Regions from separate parts of the Homo sapiens genome. Here region 2 is linked to region 1. The links are contacts of gene promoters, found by promoter capture Hi-C in human tissues and cell types (Jung and others, 2019). All regions are on one chromosome and are shown on one strand. The core of a region is centred on a gene start or on the middle of the fragment in contact, and the rest is flanking DNA. Distances in the headings are between cores, read along the strand shown.

What was found. Contacts are between HindIII fragments. The study calls those that stand out against the background at their distance.
Region 2: a fragment that was not itself captured here is called in contact with the fragment with the promoter of SCGB1D1 in region 1 in 1 of the 25 tissues and cell types used here (lymphoblastoid cells).

What each region holds. Positions count from the first base shown.
Region 1 is chr11:62,187,768-62,191,989 of GRCh38, reverse strand. It overlaps SCGB1D1 (secretoglobin family 1D member 1), which reads right to left and starts at 1,774. Exons shown (of 3, transcript NM_006552.2): 1 at 1,651-1,774. The coding sequence starts at 1,705. The HindIII fragment of the contact is 12,490 bases long and covers 364-4,222 here.
Region 2 is chr11:61,881,440-61,885,661 of GRCh38, reverse strand. All of the region lies in intron 1 of FADS3 (fatty acid desaturase 3), which reads left to right. Among named protein-coding and RNA genes, the nearest start is that of MIR6746, 5.3 kb to the right of the region's middle. The HindIII fragment of the contact is 4,427 bases long and covers 309-4,222 here.

The DNA of each region.
Region 1 (4,222 bases), core at 525-3,024:
GTCAGACCAGACAGGAACCCCAGGGTTTTAGGCTTCTATTCAATAACTATGCCAATGACAATGTCAGACCCAGGAGGTTGTGACTTCCTTGAGGTCACACAGCAAAGGGTAGAGCTAGAACTGGAGAACCAACTTCCTGATCACTCATTCAGTCTTTGTTTTTTTTTTAAAGCACACTCATTACTTTCCAAAGCTTCTCTGGATGGATGGCCAACGTTCTCTTTTCTAGATTTGAAAATAATCACTTTTCTATGCCAGTTAAGTGACACTTTATTAGTCTTGGACATTGGTGAAGAGGAGGCTTTGAGTAATCAAATTTTGAAGTGGAATGGTAGAGTCAGAATCCTATCAGAAATTAGAGAAATGAGTAAATCTGGAACAGAAGAAGTTAAAATTATTGAAATGTTGAAGGTGATGTTTTGAGAACAAGTTGTAGAATTTAGGCTTATGTGATTCAATACAGACAGAGCTAAAAGGTAAACAAATTAAAACAAAATAAAATAATGTGAATCAGTTTTAACACACATTAGAAGCTTATACAGGAAATTGTACTTGGCCCATATTCTGCAGCAGCATCTAGAATATTTGGAGAGGATGAGAGGAGGGAACTGAGGCTCATTCCTGCTCCCACTGGGAATTTTGGAAAGACCTGGAGTAATCATTTTGCTTGGTCTGGAATCTCCATTCACCTAAGTCTTTTGCAAACACCATGCATCCAGAAAGCGCCCCACCATGCTCAACATGACCCCTGACTACCCGACTTCAAACTGTGGGGAGAATTTGGAGAGGGTAGGATCGGGGTGTCACAGGGAAACAGGGAGAGGTTCAGAAAAGAAGAGGAAAGAGAAAAATCAGAGTCTGGATCGGTCCTGACAGGGGAAAGGAAAGTACCCAAATGAACTGGGGAAAAATCAGCCAGAATTAATTTTAGAAAAATAGAAGTTCTGAGGCTAACCATTGTAGTATTTCTACCACCATTACGGTAGGACCCCTAGAAGATATATTGAGTGCTGCTTATTCTAAGAATTCATTTGCAGGCTTCTTATTGAGAGAATCAGAAAGCACCATCTCTTCTTGGACTGAGAGTTCTCCAAGGATCCTTCGAGATGTAACATTTTATGAGTCTGAATTTACAATGTAAGAAGCTGTGAGCTCAATTGGCACCTAAAGGTCTGGGGACGAGAATGTCTGACAGTACAGTGATTGGCTTCACATCCACAGCTAGACCCTTGGCACAATAATCCCACTCCATTCCCATTGCCACTCCCGGAAGAAGCTCTAAGCACCAGAGATAGGAGGAGGCGCGGGGAGGGTGAGCATCTTGCCCACGGTGAAAGGGCTGAGAAGTGGCTGAGCCCAGAGTCACCCCAGACCTCACATTACATCATCTGACACAGATCCCATCCAAGAGTGAAGCTCAGGCAGAATTCCTAACGTTCGCCTGCATTGATTTTCTGCAAAACTTCCTAGGTACTGGGGATTTGATGAAATGAGGCCCGAGCTTTATGAGCAGTTCCTTCAACAAGCACAGGATAAGGTTTGGAATTTTGGTTTGTTCCAGACCCCAACCTTAACCTTAATAGGTGACCTCGTGCTCAGAGAAGGGTGTGTCCCAAGGGCTGGTGCTGGACTCATGACTGATGTACTCACCCCGGTAGCAGCAAAGGGCCAGCGTGAGCAGCAGGAGACACACCGACAGCCTCATGGTGGCTTATTCTGCTGTGAGCTCGGCTTTAACCAATGATGAGTGATTTAGACTCAGCCCCGGGAGCCTGTGGAGCCGTGGAGCCCAGGGCTATTTGTACCTAGGGAGCCTGGCTGGTCCTGCCCACATGGGCATCTGGCAGGTGATGAGGCCTGGCTTCCAGCCCTCCCTTCCTAGCCAGGGCTGCTGCCATCCATCAGTGTCACATCCCCACACCTCCCTGCATCCTGAGTGGGGCGGAGCACGGGAGGGCAGCCCTGCAGAAACTCTGCTCTGTGCTCCAGGTGAGTGTCCAGGTGCCTCTGGCAATGTTCCCTGGAACCTCAGTTTGCTTTTGGGCTTTTGAGGATTATCTCTCTGTTCTTTATGTCAGTGCAAGGGCAAATGTGAGTTCTCATTTCAGGAGGACAGAAACCGGGGGTGCAGGAAGCTAGGGGCTGTGGTTTGGTTATAGGAGAGCAGGCACAGAAGAGACCCCACTTTGACCTCCACTGCATGTCTGACAATCAGCCACACGTGTTTCAGCTGCACATAGATCAAGTCTGAACCAGACCTATCCTCCCACTCAGCCCCTTCCATCCCCACCATCTTCACCACATAGGTACCTAAAACATAGCTGCATACACCCCACCTTTGGAGGATTTCCTTGGGGAAAACAACCACTCCCCCTGTCCTCTACTCTGTCTCACTCCAAGATCTGTGTCTTTATTTATGGGTGGAGTTGTCAACATAGCACAGGTTCAAATTTTCTGTCTACTAAAAGCAAGCCTCCAGTGACCTCTAGCCACCCATATCTCCTCATAGGGCTGATGGGATGATTAAATTGCCCAACTTTTTTTACCCAAGGAGCTGCTGGGGTGTCTGGAGGCAAACAGGCATCAGAAATACTGGTCTTCGCTTCTAGGCAGGGACGATAATGGAAAGGAAGAGATGGATGAACAGGGTGGGTGGTCACTTCCCTCTAACCTCTGGGCTCAAGTTTTCCACTTCTAACCCAGCTCTGCTGCCTGGGTCATCTCATTGTTGATGGAAAGCGAAGGCCATCCCCAGCAAAAGCAATAGACACCCTTCTGCCCTTCCACTGCAGTGCCATCATTTGGTGAGTAGGAAATCACCAGAAATTTGGCTCTTAAGTGAACACACATTTGAGAACAGTCACAGCCCAGGCCAGAGCTTTCCATTCTCTGCTCTGCAATCAAATCACTTGGGGCTCTTAAACTATACTGACTCCCCGCAGGCTGCTTCCCTTTCTGGGGATTTTGATTCAGTAGTTCTAGGGCGAGGTCCTCTTCTGTTTAAACTGCTCTGGTGGGTCTGATGGGCAGCAGTACTGAGAACCACCCAGAAAGACCTTTATGAAGGAAGCGGACCTTATGGTCTGTGTCATCAGAGACACCTTGGCAGGTCTGGCTGAGTCCCAGCTGAGGGCGACAATGCCTCTCACTTCCATCACCCAAAATGGTGGGGAAGCCCCTGATGCCACCTCTGCCTCCAACCCTAAGGAGTGGAAGGTCCAGTGGCAAAGCCCATGGCTAGGAGGGTTCAGATCCATGTCTATGGGCTATTGAACCCTCTGAAAATTAGTTTATGTAAACACAGTTTTCTCGTTTGTAAAAGTAGGTTAAAAATGGTGCCTACATCATTGGGTTGATAGATGTTCAAATGAGTGTGTGTGTGTGTGTGTGTGTGTAAAATTTACCAGGTCTGGCCAGGCGCAGTGGCTCACACTTATAATCCCAGCACTTTGGGAGGCCGAGGCGGGTGGATCACCTGAGGTCAGGAGGTTGAGACCAGTCTGGCCAACATGGTGAAACCCCGTCTCTACTAAAAATACAAAAAATTAGCTGGGTGTGGTGGCATGTGCCTATAGTCCCAGCTACTCAGGAGACTGAGGCAGGAGAATCTCTTGAACAAGGGAGGCAGAGTTGTGGTGAGCTGAGATGGCACCACTGCACTCCAGCCTGGGCAACAAGAGCAAAACTCCATCTCAAAAAAGAAAAAAAAATTAACAAGGTCTGACATGTAGTAAACGCTCAATAAATGTTGACTACTATTACCTTGTCCCACCTGTCATACATTTCATGGATCATTACCAGTTCCTAGTTTAAAGCACAGCCAACCCCTCAAAAAAAAAAATCACTGATTTTCAGAACTACAATTCATGGGCCACATAAGGACATATTAGTTAATATCAGACCCCACATACAACAGGGGTCCCCTAAAATTATAATACTGTGTTTTTACTGCACCTTTTCTGTTTTGATATGTTTAGATACACAAATACTTGTCATTGTATTACAACTGCCTACAGTGTTCAGAACAGTAATATGCTGTACAGGTTTGTGGTCCAGGAGCAACAGGCTTACCTATTAATAGCTGAGGTGTGCAGTAGGCTATGCCATCTAGGTTTGTATAACTGCATTTTATGATGTTCACACAATGACAATTGCCTATGCATTTCTCAGAATGTGTCCCAGTCACTAAGTGACACACAACTGTCTAAGGAAACCTGGATAC
Region 2 (4,222 bases), core at 1,273-3,772, 310 kb after region 1:
CCTGCCCTGCTGTGTCTCTGGGGTGGAAGGAGGCTGCCAGCCCCTCCTCTCTCCCAGCCTCAGGCTTGGCCAGGACTTAACAGGCAGGCAGAGAAGCAGCTTCTCCACTCTCTTCCCTGACACCTGTAGGCCCCTCCTGCAGGCACTTACCTCTAAGTGGACTCTCAGGAGGAGGCTCATCAGGGCTGCAGGGCTCAGAAAGAGCTGGGCTGTGGAGCTCTTGCCAACCGCCAGGCCCCTTCTAAGTGCTTTAGCGCCACCGACTGCATCCTCCCAGCAGCCTTGTGAGATGGGGATTTGTGGTTCCCAGTTTACTGATGAGAAATACTGATGAGAGATGGGTGTGGTCTTGTCTGGGGCTCCCTGGCTCCTGGATAGCAGCTCAGGTTCCATCCTGGGCAGGCTGGCTCTGGGACACCCCCCCGACCAGCTGCTGTGTGGGATTCACGGTGGGGCTTGGGCAGGGCGTGGGATCTTGGGGCCAACTGAGCCACTCTAGGCTTCCAGGGACCAAGGCCAGGCTGAGCTGTCTCTGTATCCTGAGAGAGCATGAACATCACAGAAGATGGGCCCGGGTTCGAATCCCAGCTCTGCCACTACTAACTGGGACCTGGGCAGGTGTCCCTTCCCGCTGAGCCTTCATTTCCTCACCAGCAAAATGGTTCGTGCCCCTGCTTTGGGGGCTGTGGAGGGTTGGCTCTTGTCTACTTGTTCATACCTGCTGTTGAGCAGCTGCTCTGTGCCGGCCTCTGAGGATGCCACTGTGAACAGAGCCTGTCGCTACCTCCAGGAGCTTGTGTTTAGGGGTGCCGTTTTGATTCCAGCACTTTCACCCAGCTCTGCTCCGGTACCCGATGAGAGACGTCGAGTGCCGCTTTCCACTCGCTTGGGTGCGTGTGGGGGTTGGGGGGACAGGGCTTTGTGCACGTACCCCTGGGTGGATGTTCCTGGGTGCACTTAGGGTGTGTGAGGGTGGGACCTCCCACAGTTCCCTGAGGCTCCACTGATGAGGTCCAAGAACCGCCTTCCTGCCCCCCAGCCCAGGCTCCCAGCAGCTGGGCCCTTGGCTTCTTGAGATAGTGACTGGCCTCACGGCAAGGACCCCCGCACACCACCTAGGAGAACTGCTGCTTCCCCTCTGTTCCAGGAGTGGCGACAAGCACAGTTTTTCGCTTTTGTTTTTGTTTTCTTCACTTTAAGTTCCGGGAAACGTGCAGAATGTGCAGGTTTGTTACATAGGTATACATGTGCCATGGTGGTTTGCTGCACCCGTCAACCCCTCATCTAGGTTTTAAGCTCCATATACATTAGGCATTTGTCCTAATGCTCTCCCTCCCCTTGCCCCTCACCCGCCCAGTAAGCCCCGGTGTGTGATGTTCCCTTCCCTGTGTCCATGTGTTCTCATTGTTCAACTCTCACTTATGAGTGAGAAGAGACCTGGACTCTGATCTAACCTCGGTCAAATGGAACTGTGTGACCTTGAAGAAGTAGCTTAACCTCTCTGAGTCTTAGCTTCTGCCTGGCACCCCCATCCTTAAGGAGAGGCCCACAGAGGACCAGGTCACATGACCTCAGCCAGTTCCAGAGAAGGCTGTTTGCTTCCAGGTTTCGGCCTGAGTCCAGGCCCCTGCCCTACTCGCACTCCCTGATAGCATGAGAAGCACAGCCCCAGGGTGCCCACCCAGCTCTGAGAGCCCAGCCTGCTTCCCAGGGAACTGTCACAGCCCCACCTGTCCCTTCCCCAGCTGGAGCCCTGTCAATGGCTTTGGGGTTCTCTGACACAGCCCTGAGGGGGCTCACACTTCCCCTTATCATTGCAAGGGGTAGATCTGGCTTGAAGGCCCTGGGGCAGGCTTGGTTCTGTCCTCCCCTGTCAGTGCCTCGACAGGGCTGGCCTGGGTGAATCAGGACCAACGGGAAAGGAGGCGAGGAGACCAATCTGGACCCAAGATCCTCAGCTCAATAAGGTGGCCCCAGAACTGACATGGGGTGATAGAGGGAAGGGCTGGGAGGGAGGAGATTCTGGGGCCGCAGCCACAGCTTGCACGTTGCGCCGGGTGTGTCTGTGCGTGCCAGCTGCATCTTTGCGTACCATGTGTGCAAGGCTGTGTTTGGCTGAGTGTTCATGTGGGCCGTGATTGTGGGCATGTTTCTGAGTGTCTGAGTGATGCCTGCTGGTGTGGGCTGGTGGGTGTGTCTGCATGTGCGTGTGTGTCTGGGGAGTTTCAAAGGAGAAAGAGGGACTCACCATCACGCTGGCTCAGCCTTAAAAAGGTAGGACATCCTGACACGTGCTGCAACATGGATGGACCTTAAGGACATTGTGCTGAGTGAAACAAGCCAGAGGCAAAGGAACAAACATGTGATTTCTCCCAGATGAGGTTTCCGGAGGAGGCAGATCTGTATGGACAGAAGGTAGCATGGTGGTTGCCGGGGCAGGGGGAGGAGAGAATGGAGAATTAGTGTTTAATGGGGACAGAGTTTCAGTTGGGGAAGGTGAAAAGGTTCTGGAGCTGGATGATGGTGATGGTTGGACAACACTGTGCATGCACTTAATACCACTGAGCTGGACACCTAAAAATGCTTACAATGGTAAATTTCATGTATATTTTACTACAATTTTTAAAAAATTGGCTGGGCGTGGTGGCTTATGCCTGTAATCCCAACACTTTGGGAGGCCAAGGCGGGAGGATTGCTTGAGCTCAGGAGTTCAACACCAGCCTGGGCAATATGGTGAAACCCCGACTCTACGAAATATACAAAAATTAGCCTGGTGTGGTGGCTTGCACCTCTAATCCCACCTACTCAGTAGGCTAAGGCACAAGAATCTCTTGAACCTGGGAGGTGGAGGTTGCAGTAAGCCGAGATCATGCCACTGCAACCCAGTCTGGGCGACAGAGCAAGACTCTGTCTCAAAAAATAAAAGATAAATAAAAAAATTAGAGGCCAGGTGTGGCTCACACCTGTACTCTCAACACTTTGGGAGGCTGAGGTGGGAGGATCGCTTGAAGTCAGGCATTTAAGACATGCCTAGGCAACATAGTGAGACCTTGACTCTACAAAAAAATTCAAAAGTTAATGAGACATGGTGGCATGTGCCTGTAGTCCTAGCTGCTGGGGAGGCTGAGGTGGGAGGATCACTTACGACCAGGATTTCAAGGCTGCAGTGAGCTGTGATTGCATCACTGCACTCCAGCCTGGTGACAGAGTGAGGCCCTGTCTCAAAAAAATTTTTCAGTGTTTTTCTGGGCTGGGCGTGGTGGCTCATTCCTGTAATTCCAGCACTTTGGGAGGCTGAGGTGGGTGGATTGCTTGAGCCCAGGAGTTTAAGACCAGCTGGGCAACATGGCAAACCTCATCTCTACAAAAAATAAAAATAAAAAATTAGCTGGGCATGGTGGTGCACACCTGTACTAACAGCTACGAGAGAGGCTAAGGTGGGAGGATCACCTGAGCCCGGGAGGTTGAGGCTGCAGTGAGCCATGATTGCACCACTGCACTCTAGCCTGGGCGATACAGCAAGACCCTATCTCAAAAAAAAAAAAAAAAAAAAAAAAAAAAAACACCCAGTGGGGTCAGTAGAACCCCAAGAGTCTTCTTCCCTCCCAGCTCCCCTGTACACCAGCCCCAGCTCTGCAGGTAGCTGGGGGCCCAGACAGCTTCCTGGGGACCCCCAGCCTTCCCTCTGCCCTTTTTTCTACCAGTTTTGCTGCCCCTCCTTCAAGACTCATGTCCAGAGGGGGTGAGATCTGCACTTATACAGCCCCCTCCTCTGTAATGAGTGAGCCAAGTCAGCCCAGGTTATTCCAGAAGGGGCACCCTACCAGCCCCCCAGTCCCCAAGCTGCCCTGGGCCTATAAAAGCAGGCAAGGGGACCCCTAGTAGATCATGTAGGTGTTACCTCTTAGTGGGTGCTGGAGGGGCCTGAAGTGCTTTCTTCCCCCAGGGTGGTAGGAGAATGTCCTGGCAGTGACTTCAGGGCCCGCTGTCACTTCCGTTTTAAGACTCACCAGCTGGTAGGCTCATTAGCAAGAGGACAATAGGAGGCCCCTGTCCTCAGTCAGCTTTCTTCAAAGGTGTTTCCTTTAGCAACTGGGAGGCCTCCCTTCTCCAGACCCATGGGGACAACACCACCCAGCTACTGGTTCTATAAGCTGCTGTATGGCTCTGGCTAGCCCATTCAGAGAAAGCCTCTGAAAGTACAAGGAAAAAAATCAGTCCA